3 separate regions of the Homo sapiens genome follow, and all the other regions are linked to region 2. Evidence: promoter capture Hi-C in 16 types of primary human blood cells and fetal thymus (Javierre and others, 2016). All regions are on one chromosome and are shown on one strand. Each heading gives the region's core, a stretch centred on a gene start or on the middle of the fragment in contact. The rest is flanking DNA. Distances are from core to core; before and after follow the strand shown. Region 1 holds the start of LOC105370398 (a long non-coding RNA gene). Region 2 holds the start of RNASE6 (ribonuclease A family member 6). Region 3 overlaps ARHGEF40 (Rho guanine nucleotide exchange factor 40).

What was found. The method cuts DNA at HindIII sites, captures the fragments that hold promoters and counts their contacts. A CHiCAGO score of 5 or more calls a contact.
Region 1: a contact is called between a fragment that was not itself captured here and the fragment with the promoter of RNASE6 in region 2, in 1 of 17 cell types (M0 macrophages). The highest score is 5.2, in M0 macrophages.
Region 3: a fragment that was not itself captured here is called in contact with the fragment with the promoter of RNASE6 in region 2 in 2 of 17 cell types (monocytes and M1 macrophages); the score reaches 5.4 in monocytes.

Annotation. Positions count from the first base shown.
Region 1 is chr14:21,046,425-21,049,573 of GRCh38, forward strand. LOC105370398 (a long non-coding RNA gene) reads right to left here and starts at 2,271. Exons shown (of 4, transcript XR_943588.3): 1 at 1,838-2,271; 2 at 1,631-1,722; 3 at 442-506; 4 at 1-84. It also overlaps a transcript of NDRG2 not described here. The HindIII fragment of the contact is 1,121 bases long and covers 741-1,861 here.
Region 2 is chr14:20,779,893-20,782,978 of GRCh38, forward strand. It overlaps RNASE6 (ribonuclease A family member 6), which reads left to right and starts at 1,376. Exons shown (of 2, transcript NM_005615.5): 1 at 1,376-1,446; 2 at 1,803-2,575. The coding sequence starts at 1,808. The coding sequence ends at 2,260. All of the region lies in intron 1 of LOC107984671 (a long non-coding RNA gene), which reads right to left. RefSeq lists an enhancer at 2,451-2,520. The HindIII fragment of the contact is 1,450 bases long and covers 1,073-2,522 here.
Region 3 is chr14:21,072,391-21,075,515 of GRCh38, forward strand. ARHGEF40 (Rho guanine nucleotide exchange factor 40) reads left to right here. Exons shown (of 24, transcript NM_018071.5): 2 at 655-852; 3 at 1,542-2,790; 4 at 2,942-3,109. Among named protein-coding and RNA genes, the nearest start is that of ARHGEF40, 3.6 kb to the left of the region's middle. The HindIII fragment of the contact is 1,623 bases long and covers 988-2,610 here.

The DNA.
Region 1 (3,149 bases), core at 51-2,550, 270 kb after region 2:
GGTGGCGGATCTCTTGAGCCCAGAAGGTTGAGGCTGCAGTGAGCCATGATCTGCACTCCAGCCTGGGCACCACTGCACTCCAGCCTGAGTAACAGAATGAGAGCCTGTCTCAAAACAAATACATACATACATACATACATACATACATACATACATACATACATACATACCTTGGTCTCAGAAAGTACAGTTGGCTTTTGAACAACATGGAGGTTAAGGGTGCCTAGTGTACAGTCGAAAATCCAAGTATAACCTTTGACTCCCCCAAAACTTAACTACTAATAGCCTATTGATCACCTGAAGCCTTACCAATAACATAAACGTTCAGTTAACATATATTTTGTATGCTATATGTATTATGTACCATATTCCTACAATAAAGTAAGCTAGAGAAAAAAAAGGTGTCATTAAGAAAATCATAAGGAAGAAAAAAATATTTACTATTCGTTTAGTGGAAGTGGCTCATCATAAAAGTCTTCATCCTCATTGTCTTCACGTTAAGGAGGCTGAGGAGGAGAAGGAAGAGGAGGGGTTGGTCTTGCTGTCTCAGGGATGGCAGAAGCAGATGAAAATTTGAATGTAAGTGGACTTGCACAGTTCAAATCATTGTTGATCAAGGGACATAAGGTTCTCCCTAAAGTTATCTAGCTAACACACTCTCTTCTATTATTTATATTATCGGTCAACTAATTTCCTATTTTTTAACCATGTGGAAATTTTAAATAATTGTTTCATATATAAGCTTTCACAACAATTAATAATAGCATCTTTCTTAAAAATAATAAATAATAATAAATACCCATTTATACTTCCACTGGCTGGTAGAATTTCAATATAATAATTTTTTTTTAAGCTCACAAGGAAAATTTCACTCCAGGTTACATCTAGAGTACTCACCAATATTTGGAAGTAACTATTCAGATATTAACAATAAATCCAAATGGCCTGGCCTATTCTTATTAGTGGTGCCCTACCTGAATAGATTTGTCACTCAATCCTTCGTGTGACCTTGATCACAGCCAAGTTAAAGGATGCCAGGAATAGTGATGAAATAGGAATTTGACTATTCAGCCTTCCAAAAGCCAAAGCTGAGATACAAGAAGATAATAATTTGGGCCAAATACCAAGGCTGGCTGAACTGTGATGCATTCCTACTTGAAAGCTGAAGAATGGGAAAAGGAGAATGCTTAATTATGAGATATTTATGTTTCTAGGGCTGGGAGCTTGGAGAGAGGAGGATGGTGTCCAGGGGAGCTTTGCCCAGTCTTGTGCAGATGGACTTAAATTGTTTCAACATGGAGTAAAGGAGCGGAAATGGAGTTCAGTAAAGAAAGTAAACCAAGAACTGGAGCTAGATGAGCTGGCTCTCCTAGAAGGGAGACTATCTGAGGTAGACTGGGGAGGAGACTTTTCTACATGACTCTGGTTCCCAGAAGTCTCCACACACTGAAGTAAATGAGCCCTAGACACCATGAAGAGGGCCAACAGAATCACTGTGAAGAGAAGGATCCTCAGCTCCAGGGATTTCCTCTGCCTACACCCTGCCCTTAAGATCAGGACCCTTTGGCCCTCTTCATAGTGTCTGGGGCTCTGGGGGATAACCCTTGAGCTATGGCACCAAAAAACATACCAGTAGCAACAACATCCAGGGGGCCTTCTCTTCTCCTTGGGAGAGCTTCAACTCATTTCATCACATTTCTTCCATGCACCTGCACAACTGGGCTTCCAAAAGTGCTTCAAAGACTTCAGAGCTTCATTCTAATGTCCTCCCCCTACCCCCACCCCACCATGAATGGGCAAAAAGAAGAGCAGTTATAGCTCTTATCAGGATGCTTACCTGTGCAAGACTCCAAAACCAGTAAGCTTGGGAACATCCACGGAGCCACAGGGACATGAGAAAGCCCACATTGCTAATGAGATCTTGTAAGAAGTCCACAGTTCATAAGAGGAAAGGTAAATAAAAATGTGTGCTCGTGATGAAAATACACACTGTGATAGAACGCCTCTTAGCTTAGGGAGGTGGGAGTTTCCCCATCTATATAAGCTGATCTCAAACTCCTGAGCTCAGGTGATCTACTCTCCTCAGCCTCCCAAAACTGCTGAGATTACAGGTGTGAGCCAATGCGCCTGGCAATAATGTTACCAACAGATGGTTTTTGGGCTTGAATACCTTCAGGGACATGGATCTTCACTACCACTTCACAAGAGTATAATGTGGATTAAAAGTAACAATACATATAAAGCACTTAGTACAGTGACTAGCATGTAGGGAAAGTTTGAATGGTGTTAGCATTTCTATTTATCATTGTGGTGTCAAATGTTGAGTGGTCAAACCTGTGATGAATGGAGCAGGCCTGACTTCCGTGACAGAAGAACAAAGGATTTAAACAAGGGAGGCCAAACTCCTCCTCATCCGCCTCTTGCCAAAAAGCTCCTAGCCAAGAGTAGATAAGGGAAGGTTCAAGGTCAGACAAAAAGGACAATATGTATTAGTTTCTGTAGATAAGGTTATTTGGGAGGAATGGATGGGTACTTTGAGTTGAAGGAGAAGTAAAAGGGGGCTTTGGAGAATTTCTGTTAAGATTACTTAAGGGAAGTTTTTCTCCTCTGCAACCTCTGTGAATTTATGAATCCAAAGATATGAAAATAAGTTGGAGGACTTAGGACCACTAACTTTTGAGGGTGCCCTCTGTATTCCCTCCCATCCAAAGGATTTGATTATTGCAGCAATTGATGGAGACAGGGCTCTAGTGACATTTCCAACTTCCCCTCCTGAGATATTTAAATTAGTCCTTAGGAAGGCTTACTATCCCCTCACTTCCATCGTGGAAGCCTCTTATATTTTTCCCACCCTCTGATTCAGCTCCATTTTCTGGTTCATTTTTCATCACTCAAAACCTCCACCAACGCCTGTGACTCATGTCCAGTGGATTGGTTATAGCAGAAAAACATTGTGGTCATTACTTTCTATGGTTTTTTCATAGAAACTTAGTTGAACTTACACATTTAAAACATAAACTAACTGTGGTGTGAATTAGTACAAATTCCTGCTTGGGTCGTGGCATTTAGCACAAGATGAAATTTCCTATCTCCATGGCTTTAGGGCTCTCCCAGTAGTAATCATAACATTATAATGCTGCAAGACATCT
Region 2 (3,086 bases), core at 126-2,625:
ATTTCACTTTCTTTGGTGCAATATAAATGGTATTGTGTTTTAAATATCAAATTGCAATTGTTCATTGCTGGTATATAAGAAAGCAACTGACTTTTGTATATTAACCTTGTATCCTGCAACCTTGCTATAAACAGACATTATGTTTATTCTGCAGACATTTGGAGCCATAAAAGCATGGGGCAAGAGTGTTGTACTATTATATCTTGTTCAAAAAAAGACTAATCTGGAAGTAATATGTAGAATGGATTGGAAGGAGAAAAAAACAAGGCAAGGAGTCCATGTGGGAGGCTTTTATGTGAGCCCTCCATAAGACAATGAGTTTCTGAATAAGGGTGTTGCAGTACCAGTGAAAAGGTAAGAACAGATTCAAGAGGCAAATATCCTAAATTCGGCCTTCTTCTTCAGGCTTACAGGTCTTTTCATACACAATTCTGTCTTTGGGAGGCGCTTAACACTCTCTTCACCTAACTTCTAATTATTCCTCAAAATTCAGTTCAGGTGTTGTGCCCTCCAACAATCCTTCCCCTCTACTATCTTCCCGTAGCCTCCTGCAGTGTCCTCCATCACACTGTAAGTGCTATTTATATTAATATAATCTACTTGTCTATATACTTACCTGCCTGTCTCTAATCTCTTTCATTAAATCATGAGCTCCTGGCAGATCACGAGGTCAGGAGATAGAGACCATCCTGGCTAACACAGTGAAACCCCGTCTCTACTAAAAATACAAAAAAATTAGCTGGGCGTGATGGCAGGCACCTGTAGTCCCAGCTACTCGGGAGGCTGAGGCAGGAGAATGGCATGAACCCAGGAGGTGGAGCTTGCAGTGAGCAAAGATCGCACCACTGCACTCCAGCCTGGGCGACAGAGCAAGACTCCGTCTCAAAAAAAAAAAAAAAAAAAACTCATGAGCTCCTGAATTTGTGTAGCCTAGTACCTGGCCCAATAAGTATATGCATAAATGAATAATGTATTCACTTCTGTTGTAGGAACTTACAACATTACCAAGTATGTGGCAGGCATTATATCATATTTATGTGACATATTTTCTCTTAAGAAACAGGAATCATAAAGCTTCAAAAAAAAACACTGAAGCCTCAGATGAGGCAGGAAGCACTCATTCCATATCAGGAAGTGATCAGTTCCTCAAAACTGTGAGTTTTCAGTCATGTTGTTTCTTTAAGTTGGTTTAGCCTTCCTGTATACATGTGATAATGATACTGTTTTAAAGAACAGGTGTGAAAGTCTAAGAGTTTAATCCAGACTCTGCACAAGAAGTTAATCTGCCAAACCCTAGGATTCTCCTTCTGAAAGCTCAGAATATTTCTTCCCCTTCCCTATACACACAGGGCTCGAAGGGTTAGAGAAGAAAGGCAGACAACAGCTTCTGAGCTTTGGACTAATCACAGCCTCTGTTCTCAGCAGGAGCCCCAACACTGAGACCAGGTAAGAAAGAAAGCCTCAGGGCTGGAGCGAGTAGAGCAGTAAAGACGGCTGGGAGGTAGTGGTCAGATAGAGGGTAAATATTTCAGGAGGGAAGAGGGAAGAAACTTTCTGATATGACAGCCATCAAATGCATGAGTACTTGTGAAAGAAAATGGGATATGCCAATCAAAGGAGAGGTCATATTTCTGTTTCCTGGGCTTCAGGTTCTTCATAGAATTGTGAGACTATGTGAGAAAGAAGATTTTAAAGGGAGCTGTAAAATCTTAAAAGGCAAAATAAAAATCTAAATAGTTATGATTAAAAATTTTGCTCTTATTGCTTCTCCTACTATAACTATCTTCTCTCTTTCTACACAGAAAAGATGGTGCTATGCTTTCCTCTTCTTTTACTGCTGCTGGTTCTATGGGGACCAGTGTGTCCACTTCATGCTTGGCCTAAGCGTCTCACCAAGGCTCACTGGTTTGAAATTCAGCATATACAGCCAAGTCCTCTCCAATGCAACAGGGCAATGAGTGGCATCAACAATTATACCCAGCACTGTAAGCATCAAAATACCTTTCTGCATGACTCTTTCCAGAATGTGGCTGCTGTCTGTGATTTGCTCAGCATTGTCTGCAAAAATCGTCGGCACAACTGCCACCAGAGCTCAAAGCCTGTCAACATGACTGACTGCAGACTCACTTCAGGAAAGTATCCCCAGTGCCGCTATAGTGCTGCTGCCCAGTACAAATTCTTCATTGTTGCCTGTGACCCCCCTCAGAAGAGCGATCCCCCCTACAAGTTGGTTCCTGTACACTTAGATAGTATTCTCTAAGGCATCCACTGCATTTCCTTTCATTTGACATAGCTTCTGTTACAATTGCATCCATGTTTTCTTTTCTTTTGTTGATTTTCTTGTTCCCGTAGAAGAAAGAAGAAAGGTGTTTGGAGAATTCGAGTGCCTAGGATGCCAGACCAGAGTTGAGACAAAAAGAAATAAGATTATTTTCTGCTTTGTAGTTCTGTACTTTTCGAGAGAAGGGAATAGGGAAGACAGCAAAGAAAGATTCAGATTTCTAACCCTGCAACTTTTGCCAAGCTTTATTGCCCTGTGTTCACAGCAATAAAACCACTTCCTGCTGCATTCTAATGAGTGTGTGTTTGAGATCCGCTTTCAAAGCATTGTTGACCGGTACTCAGAGGAACACTGTTTTGACTTTAAGTCCCTAGAAAACTTTTGAGGCCTCCCTGGGGCCCCACTTCCTTGCCCACAAGAAAGGACAGCGTTTGGGACTTTGGAGCATTTCTTCAAACTCTGCTCATGACTTTATATATTCCCCTGGAAACCATTGTCTATGCTTAATTGGAGGTAGTACTGATACCTCAAAGACAGTTGATGATAACTCACACATAGATTCTGTCACTGGCAACTGAAGGATCCTATGTCTTTTCTATTTGTTTCCGTTTTTAATCAGATAATGTTTTAAATATAAGGTGATAGTAGTAGTAATAGGGATAATAATCCATTGTAGTAACCTTAGGGTCAATCCTCCATTATTTATTGAAATGGATAAATAGAAAGCATAGATCAAGAAAAAAGCACTAGGCTTGTCGTGGTGGCTCACGCCTGTAATCCCAGCACTTTAGGAGGCTGAGGCAGG
Region 3 (3,125 bases), core at 549-3,048, 290 kb after region 2:
GCTCTAAGATTGGGTGATTGCTTCAGAGCCACTGTGGGAGAAGGAAGAGGGATGCTAGAAAGACCCAAGACAGTCACAGACAGTCTTTCCATCCTCCTCTTTCCACCAAATGACCATCTCTAGCATATAAATGAGCATCTCTCTTTCACCAAATGATCATCTCTGGGACATAATTGTGGGTGATGGCACCTCCACCTAAGATGGGGAGCCCTGGATGGTGGGTCTTATGGGAAGGGATTTGCAGGATGGCTGTGTGGAAATCTCCCTCATCCCCTCGAGTTCTCAGCCATAAGCTCAGTCCCCTGATAGCCCAGAAGCCTGTCTTTTCTCTCCTGGGAAAGATCTATGCAATCACCCCAACTCACGAGCACCCGGAACAGCCCTGATCAGGGGCATTCACAACAAATTCTCCCTGGATCTCCAAAGCCAAGGTCTCAGAGCGGGAGTGTTGAGCGCCCTGCCAGGTTTGTGCACTCTGGCCCAGCCCCACTCCTGTTCTGGGCTCATCAGCCAGCATTTCCTGAGTGCTCACTTTTTGCCCACATTGTACAATCGGGGCTTTGGAGAACACAGCCAACCCCAGACCAGTGCAGCTCCCAAGGAGCCATGATTGGGTGATCTCTAGGGATCTGTAGCCTGGTCCTATCTCTACAGGAGCCTGAGCCAGTGGAGGACTGTGTGCAGAGCACTCTCGCCGCCCTGTATCCACCCTTTGAGGCAACAGCCCCCACCCTGTTGGGCCAGGTGTTCCAGGTGGTGGAGAGGACTTATCGGGAGGACGCACTGAGGTACACGCTGGACTTCCTGGTACCAGCCAAGCACCTGCTTGCCAAGGTCCAGCAGGAAGCCTGTGTGAGTGGCCGTGCATCACTATTCTGCCTTCCCCAAGATCCACTGCCACACTCTACAGACTAGCCAGGCTGACTAATGCCCCCACTAACCTAGAGATACAGCCTCCCTTGAAACCGATCTCTCCAGAATCACTTAAGCTTCATTCTCTGACCTCTCACAAACTTTGACCTTCACAGGCACTGACCATTCAGATGCTAACACACACACACACACACACATTCATCTTCCCCAAATTCATCTTGACCCCAATACTGACCCCCAAAGACCCTAACTCTCCAGACCCAATTCCAGACATCTTCTCCCCCTCATATGAATTTCTCAAGACACTAACTCCCCCGTACATTAGTCAACAGAGATCATTCATTTCTACAGATATAAAGACTCCTAAGAGTCTTTAGCTTCTCCAAGACAATGGCATCTGCTGACCATGTCTTGGTAACGATTCAGTTCTTACCCTCCCACACATGGAACTAGCTTCCTGAAGAATCTTCCTACTACTGGGAGACCGATCAGTCCCAATCCCTTCCTCTCTGCCACCTGAATACCCCAAATCTCCCCTCCTGCTCTCCTGAGAGTATAACCTTCCAGGCATAAGGCTGGTCCTGCCTAGGGTGGGCCCATTCTAACTGCCCTCTCCTGCTGGTTTCTTCAGCAGAGGCCTGAGTGCAGCCTCCCACCTCTCTCCCCAGGCCCAATACAGTGGATTCCTCTTCTTCCATGAGGGGTGGCCGCTCTGCCTGCATGAACAGGTGGTGGTGCAGCTAGCAGCCCTACCCTGGCAACTGCTGCGCCCAGGAGACTTCTATCTGCAGGTGGTGCCCTCAGCTGCCCAAGCACCCCGACTAGCACTCAAGTGTCTGGCCCCTGGGGGTGGGCGGGTGCAGGAGGTTCCTGTGCCCAATGAGGCTTGTGCCTACCTATTCACACCTGAGTGGCTACAAGGCATCAACAAGGACCGGCCAACAGGTCGCCTCAGTACCTGCCTACTGTCTGCGCCCTCTGGGATTCAGCGGCTGCCCTGGGCTGAGCTCATCTGTCCACGATTTGTGCACAAAGAGGGCCTCATGGTTGGACATCAGCCAAGTACACTGCCCCCAGAACTGCCCTCTGGACCTCCAGGGCTTCCCAGCCCTCCACTTCCTGAGGAGGCGCTGGGTACCCGGAGTCCTGGGGATGGGCACAATGCCCCTGTGGAAGGACCTGAGGGCGAGTATGTGGAGCTGTTAGAGGTGACGCTGCCCGTGAGGGGGAGCCCAACAGATGCTGAAGGCTCCCCAGGCCTCTCCAGAGTCCGGACGGTACCCACCCGCAAGGGCGCTGGAGGGAAGGGCCGCCACCGGAGACACCGGGCGTGGATGCACCAGAAGGGCCTGGGGCCTCGGGGCCAGGATGGAGCACGCCCACCCGGCGAGGGGAGCAGCACCGGAGCCTCCCCTGAGTCTCCCCCAGGAGCTGAGGCTGTCCCAGAGGCAGCAGTCTTGGAGGTGTCTGAGCCCCCAGCAGAGGCTGTGGGAGAAGCCTCCGGATCTTGCCCCCTGAGGCCAGGGGAGCTTAGAGGAGGAGGAGGAGGAGGCCAGGGGGCTGAAGGACCACCTGGTACCCCTCGGAGAACAGGCAAAGGAAACAGAAGAAAGAAGCGAGCTGCAGGTCGAGGGGCTCTTAGCCGAGGAGGGGACAGTGCCCCACTGAGCCCTGGGGACAAGGAAGATGCCAGCCACCAAGAAGCCCTTGGCAATCTGCCCTCACCAAGTGAGCACAAGCTTCCAGAATGCCACCTGGTTAAGGAGGAATATGAAGGCTCAGGGAAGCCAGAATCTGAGCCAAAAGAGCTCAAAACAGCAGGCGAGAAAGAGCCTCAGCTCTCTGAAGCCTGTGGGCCTACAGAAGAGGGGGCCGGAGAGAGAGAGCTGGAGGGGCCAGGCCTGCTGTGTATGGCAGGTGAGATGACACGGAGTGAGGCTCATGGGGCAAGGGCCAAAGCAGGTCGGGCCTATGGGAGGGGGCAGGAGGAGGAGCAGGGTTAGGCTGGGAGCAGAACAACCAGAACCATCTTAACTTCAGTCCCATGTTTCTGTCTGTGTCTGTGCAGGACACACAGGCCCAGAAGGCCCCCTGTCTGACACTCCAACACCTCCGCTGGAGACTGTGCAGGAAGGAAAAGGGGACAACATTCCAGAAGAGGCCCTTGCAGTCTCCGTCTCTGATCACCCTGATGTAGCTTGGGACTTGATGGCATCTGGATTCCTCATCCTGACGGGTCAGTGGGCATCAGT